3 separate regions of the Homo sapiens genome follow, and all the other regions are linked to region 2. Evidence: promoter capture Hi-C in 16 types of primary human blood cells and fetal thymus (Javierre and others, 2016). All regions are on one chromosome and are shown on one strand. Each heading gives the region's core, a stretch centred on a gene start or on the middle of the fragment in contact. The rest is flanking DNA. Distances are from core to core; before and after follow the strand shown. Region 1 overlaps DKKL1 (dickkopf like acrosomal protein 1). Region 2 holds the start of SLC17A7 (solute carrier family 17 member 7). Region 3 overlaps SLC6A16 (solute carrier family 6 member 16).

The links. The method cuts DNA at HindIII sites, captures the fragments that hold promoters and counts their contacts. A CHiCAGO score of 5 or more calls a contact.
Region 1: a contact is called between a fragment that was not itself captured here and the fragment with the promoter of SLC17A7 in region 2, in 3 of 17 cell types (endothelial precursors, naive B cells and total B cells). The highest score is 6.3, in endothelial precursors.
Region 3: a fragment that was not itself captured here is called in contact with the fragment with the promoter of SLC17A7 in region 2 in 3 of 17 cell types (naive B cells, total B cells and endothelial precursors); the score reaches 11.4 in naive B cells.

What each region holds. Positions count from the first base shown.
Region 1 is chr19:49,366,840-49,370,670 of GRCh38, forward strand. The region is part of intron 4 of DKKL1 (dickkopf like acrosomal protein 1); the gene reads left to right. It overlaps LOC101928295 (a long non-coding RNA gene), which reads right to left. Exons shown (of 3, transcript NR_110729.1): 3 at 1,866-3,831. Among named protein-coding and RNA genes, the nearest start is that of DKKL1, 4.9 kb to the left of the region's middle. The HindIII fragment of the contact is 4,505 bases long and covers 1-3,831 here.
Region 2 is chr19:49,440,041-49,444,108 of GRCh38, forward strand. It overlaps SLC17A7 (solute carrier family 17 member 7), which reads right to left and starts at 1,487. Exons shown (of 12, transcript NM_020309.4): 1 at 1,278-1,487. The coding sequence starts at 1,339. RefSeq lists an enhancer at 3,781-3,890. The HindIII fragment of the contact is 19,375 bases long and covers 1-4,068 here.
Region 3 is chr19:49,313,580-49,317,616 of GRCh38, forward strand. The region is part of intron 1 of SLC6A16 (solute carrier family 6 member 16); the gene reads right to left. Among named protein-coding and RNA genes, the nearest start is that of MIR4324, 6.7 kb to the left of the region's middle. RefSeq lists a silencer at 12-234. The HindIII fragment of the contact is 290 bases long and covers 2,002-2,291 here.

The DNA.
Region 1 (3,831 bases), core at 698-3,197, 73 kb before region 2:
TGGAACTACAGGCGCGGACCACCACACCCAGCTAATTTTTCTATTTTTAGTAGAGACGGGGTTTCGCCATGTTTCCCAGGCTGGTCTCGAACTCCTGAGCTCAGGCAATCCGCCCGCCTCTGCCTCCCAAAGTACTAGGATTATAGACATGAGCCACCACACCTGGCCCAAAATGTGATTTTCTTCTTCTTTTTTTGTTTTTTTTGAGATGGAGTTTCGCTCTGTTGCCCAGGCTAGAGTGCAATGGCACAATCTCAGCTCACTGCAACCTCCGCCACTGAGGTTCAAGTGATTCTCCAGCCCTAGCCTCCCAAGTAGATGGGACTACAAGTACGTGCCACCACGTCCAGCTAATTTTTGAATTTTTAGTGTAGACAGGGTTTCGCCATGTTGGCCATGTTGGCCAGGCTGGTCTCGAACTCCTGACCTCAGCTGATCCACCTGCCTCGGCCTCCCAAAGTGCTGGGATTATAGGCATGAGCTACTGCGCCTGGCCCAAAATGTGATTTTTAATACCAAAGAGCTGTATGAATGCTAAATGCGTTGTGTATTTCACCTTTGGTAAACTTTTTTTTTTTTTTTTTTGGAGACGAAGTCTCGCTCGTCCCCCAGGCTGGAGTGCAATGGTGCGATCTCAGCTCACTGCAACCTCCATCTCCCAGGTTCAAGTGATTCTCCTGCCTCAGCCTCCTGTGTAGCTGGGATTACAGGTGACTGCCACCACACCTGACTAATTTTTCTATTTTTAGAGAGACAAGGTTTCATCATGTTGGCCAGACTGCTCTTGAACTCCTGACCTCAGGTGATCCAACTGCCTTGGCCTCCCAAGGTGCTGGGATTATAGGCGTGAGCCACCATGCCTGGCCAGGCCACCTTTGGTAAACTTCTACAAGTGATTCTAATTATGAAGTGCTTTGCAAAATCAGGGTATTTTTAATCCTGAAAAGTTTTAAGAAACCCAAAGAGCTTGATACATCCATATGATACCCACGTACACCCATGCAATATCTTCATTTTAAAAATGTTTATTTAAAATTTTATTTTAAAAATTTCAGGACAGGCACAGTGGCTTACACCTATAATCCTAGCAATTTGGGAGGCTGAGGCAGGAGGATGACTTGAGCCCACGAGTTTGAGATCACCCTGGGCAATAGAGGGAGTCTTCATCTCTACAAAAAAATTTAAAAAGTAGGCCAGGCATGCTGGCTTACGCCTGTAATCCTAGCAATTTGGGAGGCCAAGGCAGGCAGATTGCCTGAGCTCAGGAGTTCGAGACCAGCCTGGGCAACACGGTGAAACCCTGTCTCTACTAAAATACGAAAAATTAGCCGGGCATGGCAGCCTGCACCTGTAGTCCCAGCTACTCTGGAGGCTGAGGTAAAAGAATTGTTTGAACCCGGGAGGCAGAGGTTGCAGTGAGCCAAGATCATGTCACTGCACTCCAGCCTGGGGGACAGAGTGAGACTCTGTCTCCAAAAAAAAAAAAAAAATCAAAAAAGTAGCCAGGTGTGGTGGTGTGTGCTGTGGTTCCAGCTACCCAGAAGCCTGAGGTGGGAGGATTGTTTGAGACGAGGAGGTTGAGTCTAAAGTGGGCCCAGATCATGCCACTGCACTCTAGCCTGGGCAACAGAGTGAGACTCTGTCTCAAAAAATAAATAAATAAATAAATAAATAAAATTTCAAGACTACAGAAAAGTTTTTTTTAAAAAACATACTTTATTATTTTGGAAATGGAGTCTCCCTCTGTCACCCAGACTGGAGTGTAGTGGTGCCATCTTGGCTCACAGCAACCTCCACCTTCTAGGTTGTGGAAAGTAAAAAAGTTTCTCTTTAAAGTTTTTATTAAATAATAAATCACAAGTGTTAGAAATAATATTTTTAATTAACTTTTTTTAAGCCTCTTTGCTTTGTGTTAGTAACTCTTTTTTAAACCATATCTTATGTAGTTGTTAGATATAAGGAAATAAGTACCTTCTGTGTCCTTGTACGTTAACCAAGATATTTGGTCTCGACGTGCTCAAGCATGTCCCAGCTCACAGCTTATGCCCTTTCCTTATTTGGAAATGTTATTACTTCTCCAAGTCTTTTGGCAAGCAACTTCCTCTTTTCCTTTGTTCTCCATTGCCTTTACCTATTTAAGAAAGTTTTTTAAGTTGTTAGCCAATTGGGTTTAGCTTAGACTGTGAGGTCCAGCTCCAACCAATGGAGACAGGACACAGCAGTAAGGACCCAATGCATAAGGGATAAATATTCCTGCCTTTCTTTGTTCATTGTGCTCTCCTGGCAGGATTGCTGATGGGCAGCACCCTTTCTACAGAAAGTAAAATTGCCTTGCTGAGAAAACTTTTTGTCTGAATGCTAATTTTTCCTTGCGACACCAAGAAACAAGCATTTTGATTCTAACACAGGTTCAAGTGATTCTCCTGCCTCAGCCTCCCAAAGAGCAGGGATAACAGGCACGCACTACAATATCCAGCTAATTTTTTTTTGTTTGTTTTTTGTTTTTTGTATTTTTAGTAGCGATGAGGTTTTGCTATGTTGGCCAGGCTGGTCTTGAATTCCTGACTTTGGGTGATCCACCCACCTCGGCCTCCCAAAGTGCTGGGATTACAGGCAAGAGAAGTTTTTCTTAAAATAGTACAACAGATTTTAGGCTCTTCTGTATCTGCCCACCGAGCTACTCTGTTCCTGGCTTAGAGAACCAGGAGAAGGGGAAGGGGAATCACCTGCCACATGCTGGAGGTTGGAGCCTGTGGCACCATGGCTTGCCTCACTGCAGTTGGTGGTGGCAACAGAGGCTGCAGTGTGGCCAGAGTGGCTTTTCTGGCTTTGCCCGCCCAGCCACTCTGAGAAAGGCTGGAGGAGAAAGTGAAGGAGGAGTCACCTGTGGTGAGGTGGAGTTTGGAGCTTGCAGATGGCACGGCTCTGTGGCTCACCTCCTACAGTTGTGGCGGTGACAGCGAGGGAGACTTCAGCCTGACTGGAGTAGAAGGGTGCTCGTGAAGGCTAGAGTATTGCCTCCAAGATGCAGCAGTGGATACTCAGGTTTCAGGAGACTCCACTGTCCATGGCGAATCCATGGTCTGCCAGCGCAGTTTTAGAGAGAGAATGTGCCACCGCAGGTGTCATCCTCATGTGCACCCTGGCAGGTAGCCATCTGAAGATTTCAAGGACAACCTGGCAGGGGAGCAGACCAGCGACACTTCCTCTGAACAGGTTCTTGCTGTTCACTTGACAGACTCAGCAACTCAGGCAAGTGTTCACATGGAAGATATCCTGGAAGGATACCAAGCCAGTGAAAGCTCAGATGAAAATGCCCCATGGCTTTGGAAGGCCAATGAATGTGCCAAGGAAAAAGGTGCCATGGAGGATCCTCTGGAAGACCTCGCCAATGAAATTTCAGATTAGGACACCCCACTGGATTTGAAGGCCAAAGAACGTGCCAAGGAAAAAGTTCCCATGGAGGATACCCTGGTGGAAGACCTTGGAAACGAAAGCTCAGATAAGGATGCCTCACTGGACTTGAAGGTTGACAAACGCATGAAAGAAAAAGTTCCCACAGAGGATACCCTGGTGAAAGACCTTGCCAATGAAAGCTCAGATGAGGACGCTCTACTGGATTGAAGGCTGATGAATTCACCAAGGAAAAGTTCCCACGGAGGATACCCTGGTGGAAGACCTTGCCAACAAAAGCTCAGATGGGGATGTTTTGCTAAATTTAAAGGCTGACAAATGAGCCAAGGAAAAAGTTCCCATGGAGGATACCCTGGTGGAAGACCTCACCAACGAAAGCTCACATGAGGATGCTCCACTGGATCTGAATGCCGACAA
Region 2 (4,068 bases), core at 237-2,736:
GAGGTTATCTCAGCTTCCCCTCCACCACCAACCTCCGTCACTGCACCATCCTCCTGCCCACCTCCCCCCACTTCTGTCCAGCCTTATTCTTGTCTCTCATGTTACTAGAGGGTGGGGTAACTTTGGAGCTAAGAGGTGATCTGCAGCAAGCAAGACTGATGTTAGACTTAGCAAAGGACCCCCATGGCCTAGCGAGGTGGACTGAAGCTCAGCGAAACACAGGGTCAGGGCTGTGGGCCAAGGGGACAGGGCCTGAGGGCACGGCGGCAGGGGCATGGTGCTGATGAGGCCATCTCCTTCGTGCACTGTGGCCAGATATATTTTTAGGCTTTTCCGCAGCTGAGTAATTTATCTGACTTAGAGCCAAAGCTGGGGTTGGGGGTGAGAGCCTGTGGGGAGGTGTCCAGATTATCCTGAGGGACACTCGGTTCACTGGGGTCATCAACCTGGTTGGGAGGGAGTCCCTGTCAGCCCCAGCCTGTATCCTTTGGGAAGGCTGTCCTACCCCAGGAGCCGAAATTTTTGGCCTCTAACTCCTTTCTCTCCCAGGGACCCAGGGTGCTGTGACTTCTTCCACCCAGCCTCACCCCCTCAAGGACAACGGGCTATGAGCCCCAATCCGCTTTAGCTGCAGATTAAACTCCATGCCAGACAGAAACGGAAAAAGACACAGAGAGACGGAGAGACCCATGGTGGGAGAATTAAAACACAGAGACGGGGACAGGGACCCAGAGAAGTGGGGACCAGAGATCCAGGGAAGAGGAGAGACCCAGAAAGAGGGGGACAGAGACTCTGAGTCAGGAGTTGATAGAGATCCAGTGAGAGCAATGGCCAGAGAACCAGAGAGAGGGGCACAGAGACGCAAAGAAGCGGAGGCAGAGATCTAGGGAGAAGGAGGGGCCCAGAGAGAAGGGAGCCGAGATCTGGAAAAAGAGGGAGACGGAGACCCAGAGAGAAAAGGGGCAGAGACATCCAGAAAGAGACGGGGACAGAGACCCAGAAGTGGTGGGGGAGGAGCCAGAGACCCGGGAGAGAGGCATTTACAGCACCAGAGAGAGTGGAGCCGGGTGGGGTGGGGTGCAGAAAAAGGAACAGGATAATGGACAAGGCTCGACCAGGGAGAACAGCGCCGTCGGAGCCCACGGCAGAAAACTGGACAGATGGGTGGACCCCCATGCCGGGGTATCGCCCGTTCATCTGTCAGTCTGCGCCCAGGTGGGAATTAGCATCCTCCTCAGATCCTCCCACTCTTCTCCCGGGACCCCCGCCAGGCTCACCGGTGCAGCTTCCCGAGAGCACGACCCGCTAGCTTCCGAAACTCCTCCTGGCGGAACTCCATGGTGGCGGCTCCTGCCGCCGGTCACCCCGCGGGTCCCCCCCGCCGATCCCCCCGCCCGCGGGCCCGGGCGGCCGCGTCCGGGTTCCCGGGGTCCAGCCCCGGCCCGGCCGGCCCCGCAGCTCCGCTCGGGGGGAAGGAGGCTGCAAGTGCAGGCGGCCCGGGGGCTGTCACAGGACTCAGCGCCGGGGGCGGGGCGCGGGAGGCCCCGCCCCGGCCCCACCAGGCCCCTCCCCTCGTCTGTCAGACCCGCCCCCTCTCGCAGCCCTTTCATCCTCGTCCTGTCCCCTCCTGAGCCTTCCAAGACCACGCCTGTGGGTTCTGAACTCACGCCTCCGAGTTCACGCCCCCCAATTCTGTTCCTTCCCCAGGCTACTCCCCCTATCCCTGTTCCATCACCCCTGGCTCCTACCCAGATTTTCTCTCCTCTCCTGAGTTCTCATCCCCATCATTTCTCTCCCCGACTTCTGTTCCCCCTAATTGCGTCCCTTACAATCCTGTCTTCTCTGACTTTCCCTCTGCGTTCATCCTCCAGTTCCTTCACTCCTCCCCGCCCCCACCCCGCAATTCCATCCCCATCCCACCTCGTCCCCAGTTCCAATAGTCTCATCCAGGGAGTTCTTTGTTTTCTCATTCAAGGGAAATTCTTTCCCCTCAAGTCCAACGCCTACTTCGATCCACCTGTCGTCCCCCTCTAGTCCCTTTCGCCACCCGGGTTCTTCACCCTTGAGCTCCATCTCCTCCTTAGTTTCCATCTTTCCCCTTTGAATCCCATACTCCTCCAGCTCTATTCTCCCTCCGGCGTCTCTCTCCTCCCTGTTGCTTCTCTCCCTGAGTTTCATTCCCTAACCCCGATTTTCTTCCCTCTGGCTTCCGCCCCCCACAGTTATATTTCACACACCCCGCCAGTGCCAGCTGCGACCCCATAGTCTCCCCATTGTGTTATTTCTCTGCTCCTCTGGGATCTGTCCGCGCTCTGAGTTCTTCCCTAGCTCCGGGGGATCCATTCCTCTATTTGAGTTCTGTCTCCACCCCCTGAGATCTGTCCCGCCCCCTAAATTGTGATCCGCACCCCCTGGCATCCTCACCCGCCCTCTGAATTTGTCTCCTCCCCTAGGATCTGTCGCTGACCTGAGTTCTGCCCCCGCCCTCTGAGTTCTCTCCCCACCGTTGGAGTTGTGTCCCCTTCTCCTAGGATCTGTCCCTGGCTCTGTTCCCGCCCTCTCAGTTCTGTCCTTGCCCCCTGGAATCTGTTCCTGCCATCTGAGTTCTACCCCTTCCCCACAGGATCTATCTCTGCCCCCTGGAATCTGTCCCCACCCACCGAGTTCTGGCCTCCGTCCCTGGGATCTGTCCCCGCCCTCTGTGTTCTACCCCTGCCCCATGGGATCTGTCCCCGCCCACCCAGTTCTCCCCGCCCCCTGGATCTCTCCCTACCCTCCCAGTCTTGCCCCGGCCCCATGGGATCTGTCCCCGCCCTCCGACTTCTGACCCTCGCCACTGGGATCTGTCCTCGACCTCCCAGTCCTGCCTCCGCCCCCGGAATCTGACCCCGCCCACCGAGCTCTGGCCTCCGCCCCTGAGATCTGTCCCCGCCCTCCCAGTCTTGCCCCTGCCCCATGGGATCTGTCCCCCGCCCACCGCCTCCGCCTCTGGGATCTGTCCCTGCCCTCCCAGTCCTGCTCCCACCCCCGGAATCTGTCCCCGCCCACCGAACTCTGTCTCCACGCCGGAATTCCAGCGCCGCCCCGTTGGGTAGAGCCCGGCCCTTCCCTGTCCTGGGCCCGCAGACAGGGTCCCGCCCCGCTCCTGTCCTCAGACCAGCCCATCTCCCGGCGCTGAGTCCACCTCCAGATCCAGGCCCCAGGAGGGTGATCCTTTCCCCACTACCTCCCCGCGTCGGGCCGCAAATGCATTTGGTATTAAATTTTCATGATGCGGCCCGCGGTGGGGTGGGAGGAGCAGACGGCGCGTCGGGCGGGCGCCAAGGACGGGGTGGCCGGGAAGCCACTGACCGCCGCAGCCTCTCGCTTCCAGCCTTGACTGGCTGTGTCTCTGGGTCTCACAGCTTTGAGAAACCCCTGGGACCCCAGAACGGAGGACGCTGCGGGTCTGAGGCAGGAGGGAGGTAGGAACTGGGACTCGTGGGGCTGAAGTAGCAGCGCGGGAGCCGCTCACACGCGCCACCCAGTGGCTGCAGAGTCCCCGGCCCGGGTGCGGAGGCGGTGGTTGCGGCTTGGGGCCAGGTGTGAGGGTGGAGCAGATGGTGAAGAGGAGGGAGTGGGAAGCGGGCCCCGCCGCTGCCAAAACTTGGGCCTTTGCCGAAACCATCGCCATGGAAACCGAGGAAGGAGGAAAGGACTCAGCCGCACACTTTTTCAGGACCTGGGAATGAGTTACTCGGCCCCCTCCAGCGGCTCACCGTCCCAACCACAAGTCCCAGCGGCCTCTGAGCCTCAGCGCTCGTTTGAGAAGGGCCGCGCACTCCGAGGGCCGCTGGGAGATGTAGTTCTCTGAGACGATGGGCAGGGAAAGGTTGCGCCCTCTGGTGGACACGGCGCCCACGTTCGCTCATCCGTTCCGCGGCCGGAAAGACCCTACCTGAAGTCACTCCCACCCTGACCTCTTCCCCGTCTTTTCTCCCCCTCCCTCACAATTCACCCCATTGCAGACACATTGTGCTTGCCTGCCTGCCTTTTCTTTCCTTCCTTCCTCTTCTTTCTCTTCTTTTT
Region 3 (4,037 bases), core at 897-3,396, 130 kb before region 2:
GACCAGCCTGGCCAACATGGCAAAACCCTATCTCTACTAAAAATGCAAAAAAAAAAAAAAAAAAAAAATAGCCGGACATGGTGGCAGGCACCTGTAATCCTAGTTACTAGGGAGGCTGACTTAGGAGAATCACTTGAATCGGGAGGCAGAGGTTACAGTAAGCCAAGATCATACCACTGTACTCCAGCCTAGGTGACAGAGTAAGACTCTGTCTCAAAAAAATAATAATAATCAGCCGGGCACAGTGGCTCACGCCTGTAATCCCAACACTTTGGGAGGCCGAGGTGGGTGGATCACCTGAGGTCAGGAGATCGAGACCATCCTGGCTAACACGGTGAAACCCCATCTCTACTAAAAGTACAAAAAATTAGCCAGGCACAGTGGCGGGCGCCTGTAGTCCCAGCTACTCAGGAGGCTGAAGCAGGAGAATGGCGTGAACCTGGGAAGCGGAGTTTGCAGTGAGCTGAGATCACGCCACTACACTCCAGCCTGGGCAACAGAGTGAGACTCCGTCTCAAAAAAAAAAAAATCATAATCATAATCATAATCATAATCAAGAAAAAATATGTATTGATAAGTGAAAATAAAAAGATCATAATGGACAAAGAAATCCAATTGAAGAAGCTCTCATCAGCGAAATCTGGACAAATCAGAACATCAAAATAAAGAATAGTAACAGATGAGAACCAACAGACTAAAACAAGAATCCATGAATCCACAGGGATACAACTCAGGAAAAGGAAAACCTCTTCCTTATAGTAGAATACAAACTAATAAATGTACAAGGAACGATGAATTAGAAGGTCACTGCTTATCATAAACTAATCAAGTTGTACACATGAAATATGTACAGTTTTTTACTTGTCAATCATCCCTCAATAAATATGTCTTTTTAACAAATCATTGTTTGGAAATTACCAGAGTAATAACTGACACAAGCAAGAATCATCAATGGTTGCTAAAACAAGATGATGAAAATTTGATGGGGACAGGATAATTGCATAGTATTACTGTATCTCCCCACAAGATATTCCCCCCAAAAAAACCCAAGAAACTAGTATCTTTAGAGTATTACACACTACCTAAACCAATAATAGTCACCTGATATCATATAACTCCTGATACAATGCATTAAGAGCACAACATCATTTCTGTGGGATTCCTGCCAAAAACATGTAACAAAACTCCAATCGTGAGGAAACACCAGAAAACAAATCTAAATTGAAGTACATTCTGTAAAATAGCTGGCCTGTGCTCAGTAAAAATGTCACAGTCAATAAAGACAAGGAAAGATGGAAGTGTTGTAAGTCTGAAATTATGTCAAAATTTTGTTAAATTTTTTAAACTTCCAAGCACCTGCCACTCCTACAATTCACCATCAAAACAAAAGGAAGTTTCTTCTAAGATAGCCACATGAACACCAATCTCCAAACTTACCCACAATCTCCCCCTACCCAACAAAAAAAAAAACCAATGATTTTAAAATATTACAAATATGGGGATATCTGCATCATTTCTGAAAAATAGGTTCCATCCTCATGTCAAAAACAGAGAAACTTCTGCTACATAAACAAGAAACAGGACCAAACTGTAATCACTGAGGAGTCAGTTCACATCTCTTTTTCCTGATGAAGTGGTTCAGTGTTTCAGGAAGTAAGTAAATACTTTCCCAGCAACTTGTGGGAAATAAAAACAATCACTTGCCAAAGACCTTCTGCTCCAGTGAACCAACAGCTTCCAGAAGCTGTATGCCAGAGAATGCAACAGCAGGTGGGCCACTCCTCTGTTATTGGATTTATTGGAGTTATTGGTGGGTTGATGGGCGTCTCCCTGAGACAAATGATGCTTCCATAACATTAAGAGAGAAGCAGAAAATCATGCAGGGAAGAAAAGGCTGAAGAAAAAATTAGGTACAAAAATCCAGCCTTTGGGGCTGGTCATGGTGGCTCATGCCTGTAATCCCAGCCCTTTGGGAGGCTGAGGCAGGAGATGTTTTATGTAAGCTTCGTGGTAACTACAAAGCAAAAAACTCAGTAGAGATGATTCAAAGCATACCACTAGAGAAAATCAATATAATTAGTCACATTGATATAATAAAGAAGAAAAATATTATCATCTCAAGAGATATAGGAAAAACATACAATACAATGATGATTTACGGAGAAAAACTTTTAGCAAACCAGGAATAATTTCCCTAACCTGATAAATGGTGTCTCTCAAAAAAAAAAGATTATACTTAATAGTGAACATATGCTTAAACATAGGCACATATTTAATAATGAAGTGAAGAAAGCTTGCCTTTTGAAATCAAGAACAATCAATGAAACCAGCTATCAGCACTTCCTTCCCATTGCATTAAATATTTTAGACAACACAGGAAAGCAAGGGGAATAAAAGACAAAGATTAAACAAAACTCACTATTCACAGATGATATATCTATGTGGAAGATCCAGAATACTACAGATAAATTATTTAAATTAATAAGATAATTTAGCAAGATTGTTGGATGCAAACAGCAATAAATGAAAATTATTTATATGTCTATGCTTGCAATACATAATTAGAAAATAAAATTTTAAAATAATAATGCCACTTATAAAATAATTTTTTAAATATAGAGTAAAATCCTGGGAAGGTAATGGCAATAACAGCAACATTGTTTTAAAATCTTCCCAAATACTCACATGAAAACAAGTAGTTCTACTAGATTGCAAGCCCAAAATCCATGGATAATATTTACAATATCAAGATAAACCCCAAAAGACAAGTCTATGAGAACAAACCACAAGAGCCACAGACCTGTATAGAATCAGCATCTGTGTGGGAGGAAACAAAGGAAGCAAGAGAGCATCTGACAGACCTGGGGATGGGGGACAGGGAAACCAGTCTCTCAAAATAATCAACAGGTACTCACCAGAAATCATGGGAAGGCTATTAGAGAACAGCAGCTAAAACTAGAAGATGTCTTGCCTAATCCAATAACAGTTGAGTGCATGGAGTCAACAATAGAAACTGAAGGGACCAGGGCAGACTAGATTCTATGAACTCTTAAAATTAACCAACCAGGGATCTTTTCCAACCCAGAGGCCACAATGAGGAGAAATTCCTGTGAGTAAAGCCAAATTGAGCAATACAAGAACAAGAATGATGAAGGATAGGCCAGACACAGTGGCTCATGCCTGTAATCCTAGTACTTTGGGAGGCCAAGGCAGGAGGATCACTTGAGGCCAGGAATTCAAGATAAGCCTTGACAATGCAGTGAAAACCCATCTCTACCAAAAAAAAAAAAAAAAAATTAAAATTAAAATTAGCCAGGCATAGTGGGACACGCCAGTGGTCCCAGCTATTTGGGAGGCTAAGTGGAGAGGATCGCTTGAGCCCAGGAGTTCAAGGTTGCAGTGGGCTATGATCACACCACTGAACTCCAGCCTGAGCAACAGAGTGGGACCTCATTCTCTAAAAAAATAAAATAAAATAGGCCAGGTGCAGTGGTTCATGCCCGTAATCCCAGCACTTTGAGAAGCCAAGGCAGGAGGATCACTTGAAGTCAGGAGTTTAAGACAAGCCTGGCCAATATGGTGAAACCCCATCTCTACCAAAAAATACAAAAATTAGCCAGGCATGGTGGGACACACCTGTAGCCCCAGCTACTCGGAAGGCTGAGGTGAGATAATTACTTGAATCCAGGAGGGGGAGGTTGCAGTGAGCCAAGATTGCACCACTGCACTCCAGCTTGGGCAACAGAGTAAGACCCTATCTCAAAAATAATAACAATAATAATAAAATAAAATTAATTAATTAAAAGATAATTTTAAGAAAACATAGAAATGAAGGATATACAGGATCCAGATAAAAATGGGGAGAAGAAATTTCCACTTTTGACCATGAAAGCAAAACAGTGTCTGGAGTTACCTCCACAAAAACACTACAAAACTGTACAAATAGGCCAGGCGCCGTGGCTCACGCCTGTAATCCTAGCACTTTAGGAGGCCGAGGCGGGCGGACCACGAGGTCAGGAGATCAAGACCATCCTGGC